Regions from separate parts of the Homo sapiens genome. Here all the other regions are linked to region 2. Evidence: promoter capture Hi-C in human tissues and cell types (Jung and others, 2019). All regions are on one chromosome and are shown on one strand. Each heading gives the region's core, a stretch centred on a gene start or on the middle of the fragment in contact. The rest is flanking DNA. Distances are from core to core; before and after follow the strand shown.

What was found. Contacts are between HindIII fragments. The study calls those that stand out against the background at their distance.
Region 1: a contact is called between a fragment that was not itself captured here and the fragment with the promoter of BEST4 in region 2, in 1 of the 25 tissues and cell types used here (lymphoblastoid cells).
Region 3: a contact is called between the fragment with the promoter of CCDC17 here and the fragment with the promoter of BEST4 in region 2, in 1 of the 25 tissues and cell types used here (IMR-90 fibroblasts).

Annotation. Positions count from the first base shown.
Region 1 is chr1:45,351,050-45,354,449 of GRCh38, forward strand. All of the region lies in intron 5 of TESK2 (testis associated actin remodelling kinase 2), which reads right to left. Among named protein-coding and RNA genes, the nearest start is that of TOE1, 13 kb to the left of the region's middle. The HindIII fragment of the contact is 4,062 bases long and covers 13-3,400 here.
Region 2 is chr1:44,786,507-44,789,865 of GRCh38, forward strand. BEST4 (bestrophin 4) reads right to left here and starts at 1,664. Exons shown (of 9, transcript NM_153274.3): 1 at 1,048-1,664; 2 at 866-960; 3 at 1-190. The coding sequence starts at 1,199. RefSeq lists enhancers at 1-206, 116-205, 207-892. The HindIII fragment of the contact is 9,775 bases long and covers 1-3,359 here.
Region 3 is chr1:45,622,541-45,625,840 of GRCh38, forward strand. It overlaps CCDC17 (coiled-coil domain containing 17), which reads right to left and starts at 1,514. Exons shown (of 13, transcript NM_001114938.3): 1 at 1,196-1,514; 2 at 1,017-1,112; 3 at 677-899; 4 at 415-577; 5 at 211-294; 6 at 9-127. The coding sequence starts at 1,369. The HindIII fragment of the contact is 15,886 bases long and covers 1-3,300 here.

The DNA of each region.
Region 1 (3,400 bases), core at 794-3,293, 560 kb after region 2:
AATAACAACAGAAAAGAACTAAGAACTAAAGGTGCAATTCATAATTCATACTCATTCCCAACAGTAATCACAGAAGATCAGTTGGGCAGTAATGGTATTAAGCAGAAGCAAACTACTTTCTCAGCTGCCCCCAAGAGCCAAGGCTCGGGTATGTGTGTACTGGTTACTTCTAGAGCTACTGATAAAAGCCTGTGTGTGGCTATTGGCACTTCTTCATAGTGCTCACAAACTGAATATTTTTAAAGCCACACTGCCTCCCACTTCCTTCCAAGTAAGTTCTTGGCCTTGCCACTGCAAAAGTCTGTTTCAGGCTGTTTCTTAGAAGTAATTACAAAATTAGACTGAATGGCTATATCTGACAGACATTTTACTCTTAGAGCATTATTGCAGTAGCTGCGGACATGAGTCCTATAAAGGTAATACTACTTTCAGGAGGCACGTTGATAGGAAACTAGGGATCTTTTTGCTTCTAACCACAGGCTTAGGATCATTTGGAAAAAGGCATCTTCTTCTCTCTGTCCTGGTTTACCCACTTGGAACATGTTACCTCTACTTTAAATCCCTCTTGTTAGCTCTGGTCTGAGCAGTGTGGACTGATCGCTCCTGCAAAGTCAAGGACAGCATCTGTTTTACAGACTGGGAGCACGGAGGTTCCAAGGTCACTGAAGTCGTTCAGAGATGGGGACAAAACTGGGCCTGGAACCCAGAATCTCAGCTCTGGAGCAGGCGTTTTGGCCTCTTTGCTATCAAGCCCTTCGCCCTTCCCTGAAATAGGCCCAGGAAGACTTTATACTCTCATAGGCTCTGTGCTAGGTGGTAAGAAAACAAAAGTAAATAAGAGAAGCACTTGAGAAACTCATGCTGGTGGGAGATACAGACACAACAGAACAATCAAGTGATATGGAGTGTATAATATTAAAATATAAGAAAGCCTGATACTGTCCTTAAAGAAATAAGACACAGACCCAAGATGGACTATGAAGAGATAATTTGGAAACCTCCGAGCCCTCTACTGTCCCTTTAGCTTTATTTCTCAGAGATGATAAAAGGGCAATGAACACAGACGGTATCTCAAATTGGACAGTCTGGTTCATAAGACTCACTTGTTTGTCTTCAACTTGAGATCCCCTATAGTGTACTTCCCAGCCTTCCTCTAGAGTTTGCAAACGTCCTTTGTTCTCACCACCTGGAATTATCCTCAAAACCTCCTTAAAGTCCGGACCCAAGAAAGTACAGCCCAGAAATATAGGGAGTTATTTCTCCTATGTTCCTAGTTTCTTGTCTCAAGTCAGTTGACACTGGGAATACCCATTCCCCATAAGGAAAAGCAAAGGGTAGTGGTCTTATCCTATAGTCCAAAAAGGTTATTTTTATAATACAGCACAACAAGCCCAGACAGAACCACACTTGGACACTAGCACAATGGGACAAAGTGCTTTTGGGGCACAGAAGGGAATATGATGAACTCTTAGGGAGTGGGGGCTTTCCTCGAGGAAGCCTAGCTACCCTGGCCTAGAGTGATCTTTCCTGCTCAGAAAACTTGTCGTCTATGTAGCTAAACAATTATAAAATGCTGTGCACTACTTTTTAGTTATTTGCCAACAAAACTGTACATACCTCTAGGTCAGAAGTTCCTCTTTTCTAATATTCCTTCATCCTTGGAGCCAGGTATAGGAGACACTTGTGTGTGTGTGTGTGTGGGGGGAGTATCTGTGTAACTGATACATATTTTGTCACAAACTCCTTCTATCTTAGAAAAAATGGCGCTTTCTGAGTAGGAAGCAAAGATTTGATATCTGAGTTGATTCAGTCCCATCCATTTGCCTGGAACAAATGCAATTTTCTTTTTTTTTTTCTTTTTTTTTTCCAAGACGGAGTCTCGCTCAGTCGCCAGGCTAGAGTGCAGTGGCACGATCTCGGCTCACCACAGCCACCATCTCCTGGGTTCAAGCGATTCTCCCATCTCAGCCTCCCGAGTAGCTGGGATTACAGGCACCTGCCATCATGCCCGGCTAATTTTTGTATTTTAGTAGAGGAAGGGTTTCACCATGTTGGTCAGGCTGGTCTTGAACTCCTGACCTCAGGTGATCTGCCCGCCTCGGCCTCCCAAAGTGCTGGGATTACAGGTGTGAGCCACCATGCCCGGCCTGCACTTTTCTTAGTCTTGGTTTTCCAAAACATTCTGGGGGAGAAGAAATGGCTAATAAAGAGATAAGATATCACCTTCCAGGTCCCAACTGCCTAACTGTCCAGTTCTTACAGACAGTAATGTAGATAAAGGGCTCCTTACAACTAGGCCTCTGCTGGTTCCCAGTTTCTACTTGCCAGTCTTGTGCTCCTTCAGGAACAGTGCAGCTGACTACAAATGACTCTGCCACACACCAAAACCATTCTATGTGAGGCATCCAGGTACTTACTGCTTTAGGCTTTATTGACTCAGTACTGCTGCTTTTGTTCCCTTTCAAGCTTTTTCTTAAGATGGGCTCCCTTCCCCTCCCCTTCATCTGGGGCAGAAGGAGTAGGAGTATGTGCATGCATATGTGAATATGTGTACATGTAGGTATTGAGGGTGGGGAATGAAGTGACAGCTATTCTTAGGCAGGTACAAAACTCTTATACACCTCCCTAGCAGACTTTAATTCAGTTCTTGGGCAGCAGTCATATTAGATATGTTAGATTGCCTTATAGTTCCCCCATTAATAATCAAACGGTACTATTTATATAAGCCTTGTCATGATGGTATCTTAGGCCATTTGGCTATGAGGTGTCTGTTTTGTGGCATGGCCAACTTCCTCTGAAAGCGACTCTTTTCTAACCTGGTCACACAGCAATTTGGACAGCAAGAGAGTGCTACAGAGATCAGCTGATGCCAAAGAGGAACTGGCAGGGCAGCAGAAACTCAATCACACAGGCAGAAAATGGGTCAGTACATATGGCCCTAAAAACCTGCATTCAAGTGACTAAAAATCACTGAACTCCTGCTCTTAGCTAAGAACTACATCCTGGGGCCACAGGAAAGAAAACTGATAGGCCCCTATACTGCCTTGACTGCTGTCATTCCTATAAGGCAAGAATTTCTTAACCCTTCTCATGTCATTTGCTCCTGTAACACATATTCAGGAGATTGAAGTTAAACATGAAGGCTCTCAAGATGTATGAGTTGGCTGGGCACAGTGCATGCCTGTAATCCCAGCACCTTAGGAGGCTGAGGTGGGTGACTGCTTGAGCTCACAAGTTTGAGACCAGTCTGGGTAACATGGCAAGACCCCATCTCTGTTAAAAATACAAAAGAAAGGCTGGGTATGGTGGCTCATGCCTGTAATCCCAACACTTTGGGAGGCCAAGGCACGTGGATCACCTGAGGTCAGGAGTTTGAGACCAGCCTGCCAACATGGTGAAA
Region 2 (3,359 bases), core at 414-2,913:
CGGGTGCTGACCGAGCGCAGCACCAGCACGGACGCCAGGTTCGCGTAGCGGATGAGGGTGCGGCGCAGCAGGCGGCCCCGCTGGTCCACGCCGTGCACGCTAGCCGAGATGACGCACATCAGCTGGTCTGGCAGCGGGATGCTTGTGTACTGGGACCACCAGCGGTTCACCACGAGAGTCACATAGAAACCTGCTTGGCCGCCGTGATAGAGGGAGTAGGAAGGGAGAGTGGAGAGCCTGGGGGTCGGAGCGCCTCACCTCCCCCAGCAAAGGGCCTGGTCCAGGCCAGTTGAATCGTGGCAGGGGGAAGGAAACATTCAGCTCCAGTGCCCTGCTGTGCGAGGCCAGGAGGAGGGAGGAGGGCAAACTTCCTTCAGCAGAGGGAAAGTGGGGATTCAAAGCCAGGAGACTGCTTCCCAGGAGGGTGGGGAAGGGGTTGTCACCTCTGTCCAGCTCCCCTGCAGTGCCCAGGGTGGGCTTGTGAGGCCAGCAGGTGTCTTGTGCCTTGCTGGAAGTGAGGGTCCGGCAAGTGATAGGGCCCTGCCCTCTGGAAGTCCTGGACCCAGCACCCAGCTCCTGTGCCTGCTGGGCCTGCTCTGGCTGACCAGGAAGGCTCTGCCACCGTGTTGAGTAATTCTTTTTTTTTTTTTTTTTTTTTTTAGCAGAGTCTCGCTACATTGCCCAGGCTGGACTGGAACTCCTGGGCTCAAGCGATCCTCTCACCTCAGCCTCTCGAGTAGCTGAGACTGCAGGTGTGTCACCACACCATCTGTTGGGTAATTCTGACCCTCGGAGCTGTCAACCCAACCCAGAGGTCAGGGAACACAGTAAGGGGGACACAGGGAAAACTAGAAGGGAGCCTTACCCAATACAAAGGACAAGGGAATGAGGTCTGCTGAGCGGTTGCAGTACCGGGCCACCTGAGCATACACGTACCTCTGCTCCTGGGTCAGCAGCAGCCTGGGGAAGGCAGGTGTAGGCTTGGGTTAGAGGGAGGTGGGTGGCCCAGTCTCCCCACTTGCGCCAGCTCTAAGACCCTGCCCTTACCGGTAGGTGATGCTAAGCACAGCGTACAAGGCCCCAAAGAGGAGGAATTCCTTGTAGAGGAGCTTGTAGATGCTTCCCCTCCAGCGGAGAAGCAGGCCAGAGAAACCTCCGAAGCGGGCCTCCGCCACTTTGAGAGTGTATGAAACCGTCATGGTGCTGGGAGCCTGGGGCAGGAGGTCACAAGAGTTGCCCCCAGGGCTGTCGTTTAGTTCTCCAGACAACCTCCCTTCCACTCTGGTCTCACACACCCCAGCCTTCACCCTGCGTCAGTGGACAAGGGGGTAGGAGCCTGCAGAGCAGAAAAGTACACCCCACCCCCTGCAGAACTGAGCAGTACATGGGCAAAGCCAGGCTAGAGTTGGACAAGGTAGAACTGAGATCTGTGTCCCTTCATGCATGAGGTTTCCTCAAGCTCCTCTTCAGCCTGCAGGGCTAGGGATAACCAGATCCTGAACTGCTGCGGACAAGAGACGCAGCTCCAGCCCAAATCCACTGCTATTCCTTGGGGCCTTGCTTTGGAAGCTGATTAACTAGAACTACCAGGGCCCAGGGCACTCTCACCCCCATCCCATACCTGCCTACCTGCTCTGGGCAGCAGCCCGTGTGGAAGATGAACTGGGCTAGACTTCAACCCCCACAGACTTAAGTACCTCTGCAGTCCATAAAGTTAGGCTGGACTGAGGCCTATCATTGATGGATTGAAGCTGTCATCCAGCTTCCCCTGGTGCTGGGAACTGGGTGTGTCTCCTTACCCCTGTAGGGTTGGGCTGGCCTTCGAGTGGCAGAAATGCCAGCTATACTGACCCCACAGCTCACACAGACGACACCATGTCCTTCAAGCCAGTATGACAGGGGTTATTGTCCCACGTTTCAGGTGGGAAGACAGATGCATGATAAACTGTTATAATAATACCAGCTGCTGATCACAGAGCACTGACTAAGTGACAGGAACCATGCCAAGGGCACTACTAGGTCATCCTCTCAAGAAATCCTCATCACAGCACCATGAGGTAGGGAATCAATCATCCACATTTCACAGATGAGGCTCCAAGAGGTAAATGACTTGCCCGCCGTCGGCCATACAGCTAGAACATGTTGGAGGCAGGATTCAAAGCCAGGGCTGATGGACTTCCAAGGCTGGAAGTGGCCTAGCAAAGGCATGAGCTCCAGGACCCATCCTGTGCACTGGCCACACTCCCAGTCTTCTTGTACAGGGGCTTGGGGGCTTGGCCAGGCTCTTCTCCATCCATGCCACGGGGCTGACAGCCACAGATCTGGAAGCTCAGGCCTAGGAGTGCAGGCTCCGTTAAGCCCTGTGTCCAACATCCTGACTCCTAGGGGTGCCCAAGATTTGAGTGGCCACTTTCACCTCTGGAGGAAGTAATACCTAAGGCGCTGATAGAAATAGAACTTCCGCTGCCAGGCAAGGTGGCTCACACCTGTAATCCTAGCACTTTGGGCAGCCTCAACGCAGGTGGATCACTTGAGGTCAGGAGTTCGAGACTAGCCTGGCCCAACATGGTGAAACCCTGTCTCTACTAAAAATACAAAAATTAGCCGGGTGTGGTGGCACGAACTTGTAATCCCAGCAGGTACATGGGAGGCTGAGGCAGGAGAATTGCTTGAACCTGGGGAGGCGCAGGTTGCAACGAGTTGAGATCGTGCCACTGCACTCTAGCCTGGGTAATCAAAAAAAAAAAAAAAAGAAAAGAAAGAAAGAAAAAGAAAAAGAAAAAGAAATAGAATCTCAATGGGAGAATCGCTTGAACCCGGGAGGGAGAGGTTGCAGTGAGCTGAGATTGTGCCACTGCACTTCAGCTTGGGTGACAGAGACTCTGTCTCAAAAAAAAAAAAAAAAAAAAAGGCCAGGCACTGTGACTCACGCCTGTAATCCCAGCACTTTGGGAGGCCGAGGCAGGCGGATCACCTGAGGTCGGGAGTTCGAGATCAGCCTGACCAACATGGAGAAACCCCATCTCTACTAAAAATACAAAATTAGCTGAGCATGGTGGCACATGCCTGTAATCCCAGCTACTCCGGAGGCTGAGACAGAAGAATCGCTTGAACCTGGGAGGTGGAGATTGCGGTGAGCCGAGATCATGCCATTGCACTCCAGCCTGGACAACAAGAGCAAAACTTTGTCTCAAAAAAGAAAAAGAAAAAGAAAAAAGAAAAGAAAAGAAATAGAACCTCAAAGTGGAAGAGAATTGGCAGCTTACTTACCCTCCCAGTGCTGAGGTAAGTGAACACTGAAAAATCCCAAGAGTGGTGGTCCTGCCTCTGTCTTGTTTTGGGAAGCTCCTCCCCCTACA
Region 3 (3,300 bases), core at 264-2,763, 840 kb after region 2:
CTGTTCACCTCTGCGGGTCTGCGACCGCTGCAGCTCCAGTGCAGACGCCTCCACCTGCAACTGCCATATCTGGCCCAGCACGCCGGGGTCCCGGCCCCCGTCTCGAATGTAGGCCTCCCGCAGCGCCCTAGGGAGTGGGGAACAGGAAGGCCGTCTTTCCAGAACTGCTCAGCGCTTCGCCCTATGCCCATCTCCGGCCCCGGCTCTCACCGGATTTCGGCAGCCAGAGTTCCCGGGTTGGCCTTTTGCACTGGAGAATAAAGTTCTGCCTCTCGCCGGGAGCTCAGCGGGTTCCTGGGGTGGCAGGCGACGCGCAGGGAGACGGTAACGCATCAGAGGCCCCGGGGCTGCAGCCAGCCCGCCCCTCCCACCCCGGAGCCGCATGTTCCGGGGATCCGCTTAGTCGGGTCTCACCCTGGCTCCGCCTGCAGCTCCTGAATGCGGGCCCCCAACACCTCTAGAGCTCCCCGCGTCCTCCCGGCCTCAGCTTGTAGTTCTCGAATCTCCTGCTCCAGGCCGAAGAGGCGGGACATCCCGCCCCGCGTACAGGCCACAACTTGGAGGCGTCGGCTCAGTTCTGAGGGAATGCGGGCCGAGTCAGAACCGGCCCGAGCAAGCTTAAGCCAAACGGCGAGGGCAGAGGAGGTCCTTGGTCCCCGTCCCCCATCTCCTTCACCCTCGCCGCGTAGCTGCAGGGCCCGGCTCTGCGCTTCCATCTCCGCCACGCGCCTCGCGCGAGTCCTGAACAGCGCCCGCAGCCGCTCGCTGGGGCTTCCCACCGCCTCGGACATGGGACTCTGAGGCCGCGCCTCGGAACGTGTCCAGGGCCCCGCGAACACCCTGGGGACCTCTGTTATCCAGGGCCGCATTTCCTGTAGGGATAGCCGCAGCCACTGCACCTGGAGGTAACAGCGATCCGCGATCTCTGCGTGGGCAGAATCTGTCCCAAGTATGATCTACAGGTTTGGGGAAGACGCTCAACGTTTTGAGCCCTGGGGGAAGGTAGGTAGCTCTACCTCCTCTGTTAACCTCTTTAGAGCAGATCTACTGGCCTGCTGGTCTGGGAGGCCCTGGGGTTCTTGTGGCACGCCCTGGTGTTCTTGTGGCACAACCTGGGGATAGGGTGTAGTAGGATGAGGAATCATAAAGGTCCTGGCTCCTTTGAATCCCCACCCATGGCCATGGAGGCCCTTACCGCGGCCCGCTGGGGTTCAGTGGCAACTGATGCCTGTGCTCCAAATGTCATCTCTTGGGTCGGGTGGCCAATGCAGAAGCGCTGAGTATGGGTGGCTAACAGAGCTGAGGAGCGGAAAACCATGTCACAGGTCCCACAGGGCAGGAGCGCAGGCTCCCCAGAGTGGGAGTCCATGGGATGGGACCCGTTTCCTGAAACCAGCCAAGACCTGCAGAAGGGATCAAGGGCAGGGGAAAGGCAGAGGAGGATGAAAGAGACATAAAGCCAGAGGCAGAGAGGAAAGGCCGTGTCTATTAGGTCTGTGAGATCTTCAAGTTTGTTTGGGGAGAGCCTTAGCTCCCTGGACAGCAACCACAGGGCTGGGCAGGTCAGGAGAATGGGTGGGGAAACCTCGGCCGTTTGGGAGGAGCCACTGGCTTGAAAAAGTGTTACAAAGTCTGAACGTGGGCAAGTCTCTAATTGTAGCTTGGTTTCCCTGACTATTAATAAAGAGGAAAAAGCAGCTGCCTCCTAGACTAGGCTGGGCCCTTATCACTTACTACATCATTGGTCATTTAATAGCCTCTAAAAGGCAAGTGTCATCTTTTTCATTGCTGTACTCCCAAGTGGATGTAACAGTTTGTACCATTCTCCAATCCAGAGAACTACCTGGCAAAGGAGGCACTCTGACCTTTCCAGCATTCTGCCTGGAAACCATGTCGCACCAGGGATAGCAGTCTCCCTAACTCCCATTCCCTGATTCCTCATTTTTCAGCTGTAGACGAAGATAATCAGCACAGCCCAAGAAATGAAAGCTGTGGGCGAACAGAATGAATCTATCAGATGAGGGAATCAAGTCCAGAAAAAAACCCCTTCTCTCTCCCAAGATTGGCCAGAAGCCAGAAAGACCCTGAACTGTTGGTGAAATTCTTCACTCCACTCCCACTCCCAAAATATATGGAGGAGCTCTGAGGTGACCGCATATTTCTTAAGAAACCCTCTTTACTTTTTTTTTTTTCTTTTTGAGATGGAGTCTCGCTGTCGCCCAGGCCGAAGTGCAGTGGCGCGATCTCAGCTCACTGCAATGAGCTCTGCCTCCTGGGTTCACGCCATTCTCCTGCCTCAGCCTCCCAAGTAGCTGAGACTACAGGTGCCCACCACCACGCTTGGCTCATTTTTTGTATTTTTTAGTAGAGACGGGGTTTCACCATGTTAGCCAGGATGGTCTTGATCTCCTGACCTCGTGATCTGCCCGCCTTGGCCTCCCAAAGTGCTGGGATTACAGGCGTAAGGCACTGCGCCCGGCCAAGAAACACCCTTTTCTCTTCTTTTTTTGAGACAGTCTCGCTCTGTTGCCCAGGCTACAGTGCAATGGCACGATCTCGGCTCACTGCAAGCTCTGCCTCCCAGGTTGACACCATTCTCCTGCCTCAGCCTCCCCAGTAGCTGGGACTACAGGCACCTGCCACCACACCCGGCTTTTTTTTTTTTTTTTTTTTAGACGGAGTCTCGCTCTTTCGCCCAGGCCGAAGTGCAGTGGCACTATCTGGGCTCACTGCAAGCTCCGCCTTCCGGGTTCAAGCCATTCTCCTGCCTCAGCCTCCCGAGTAGCTGAGACTACAGGTGCCCACCACTGTGCCCGGCTAATTTTTTTTGTATTTTTAGTAGAGATGGGGTTTCACCGTGTCAGCCAGGATGGTCTTGATCTCCTGACCTTGTGATCCGCCCGCCTCGGCGTGCCAAAGTGCTGAGATTACAGGCGTGAGCCACTGCGCCCAGCCTTATGCCTGGCTAATTTTTTGTATTTTTAGTAGAGACGGGGTTTCACAGTGTTAGCCAGGATGGTCTCGATCTCCTGACCTCGTGATTCCCCCGCCTCGGCCTCCCAAAGTGCTGGGATTACAGGTGTGAGCCACCATGCCTGGCCGAAACTCCCTTTTCTAAACAAGACAGGGACTTAAGACATTTCCCTACTCAGTACCTAAAGCCAAGGTATGACCCACCAGCAGCAAGTTACAAAGTGTTCAAAGTATGTCATCTCAGTTCAGCTTAATTCCAACTGACATAAAGAGTACATTTTTAGAAATATGTTCTCAGAAAACAAGTAAATGGCAAAGCCCAAATCA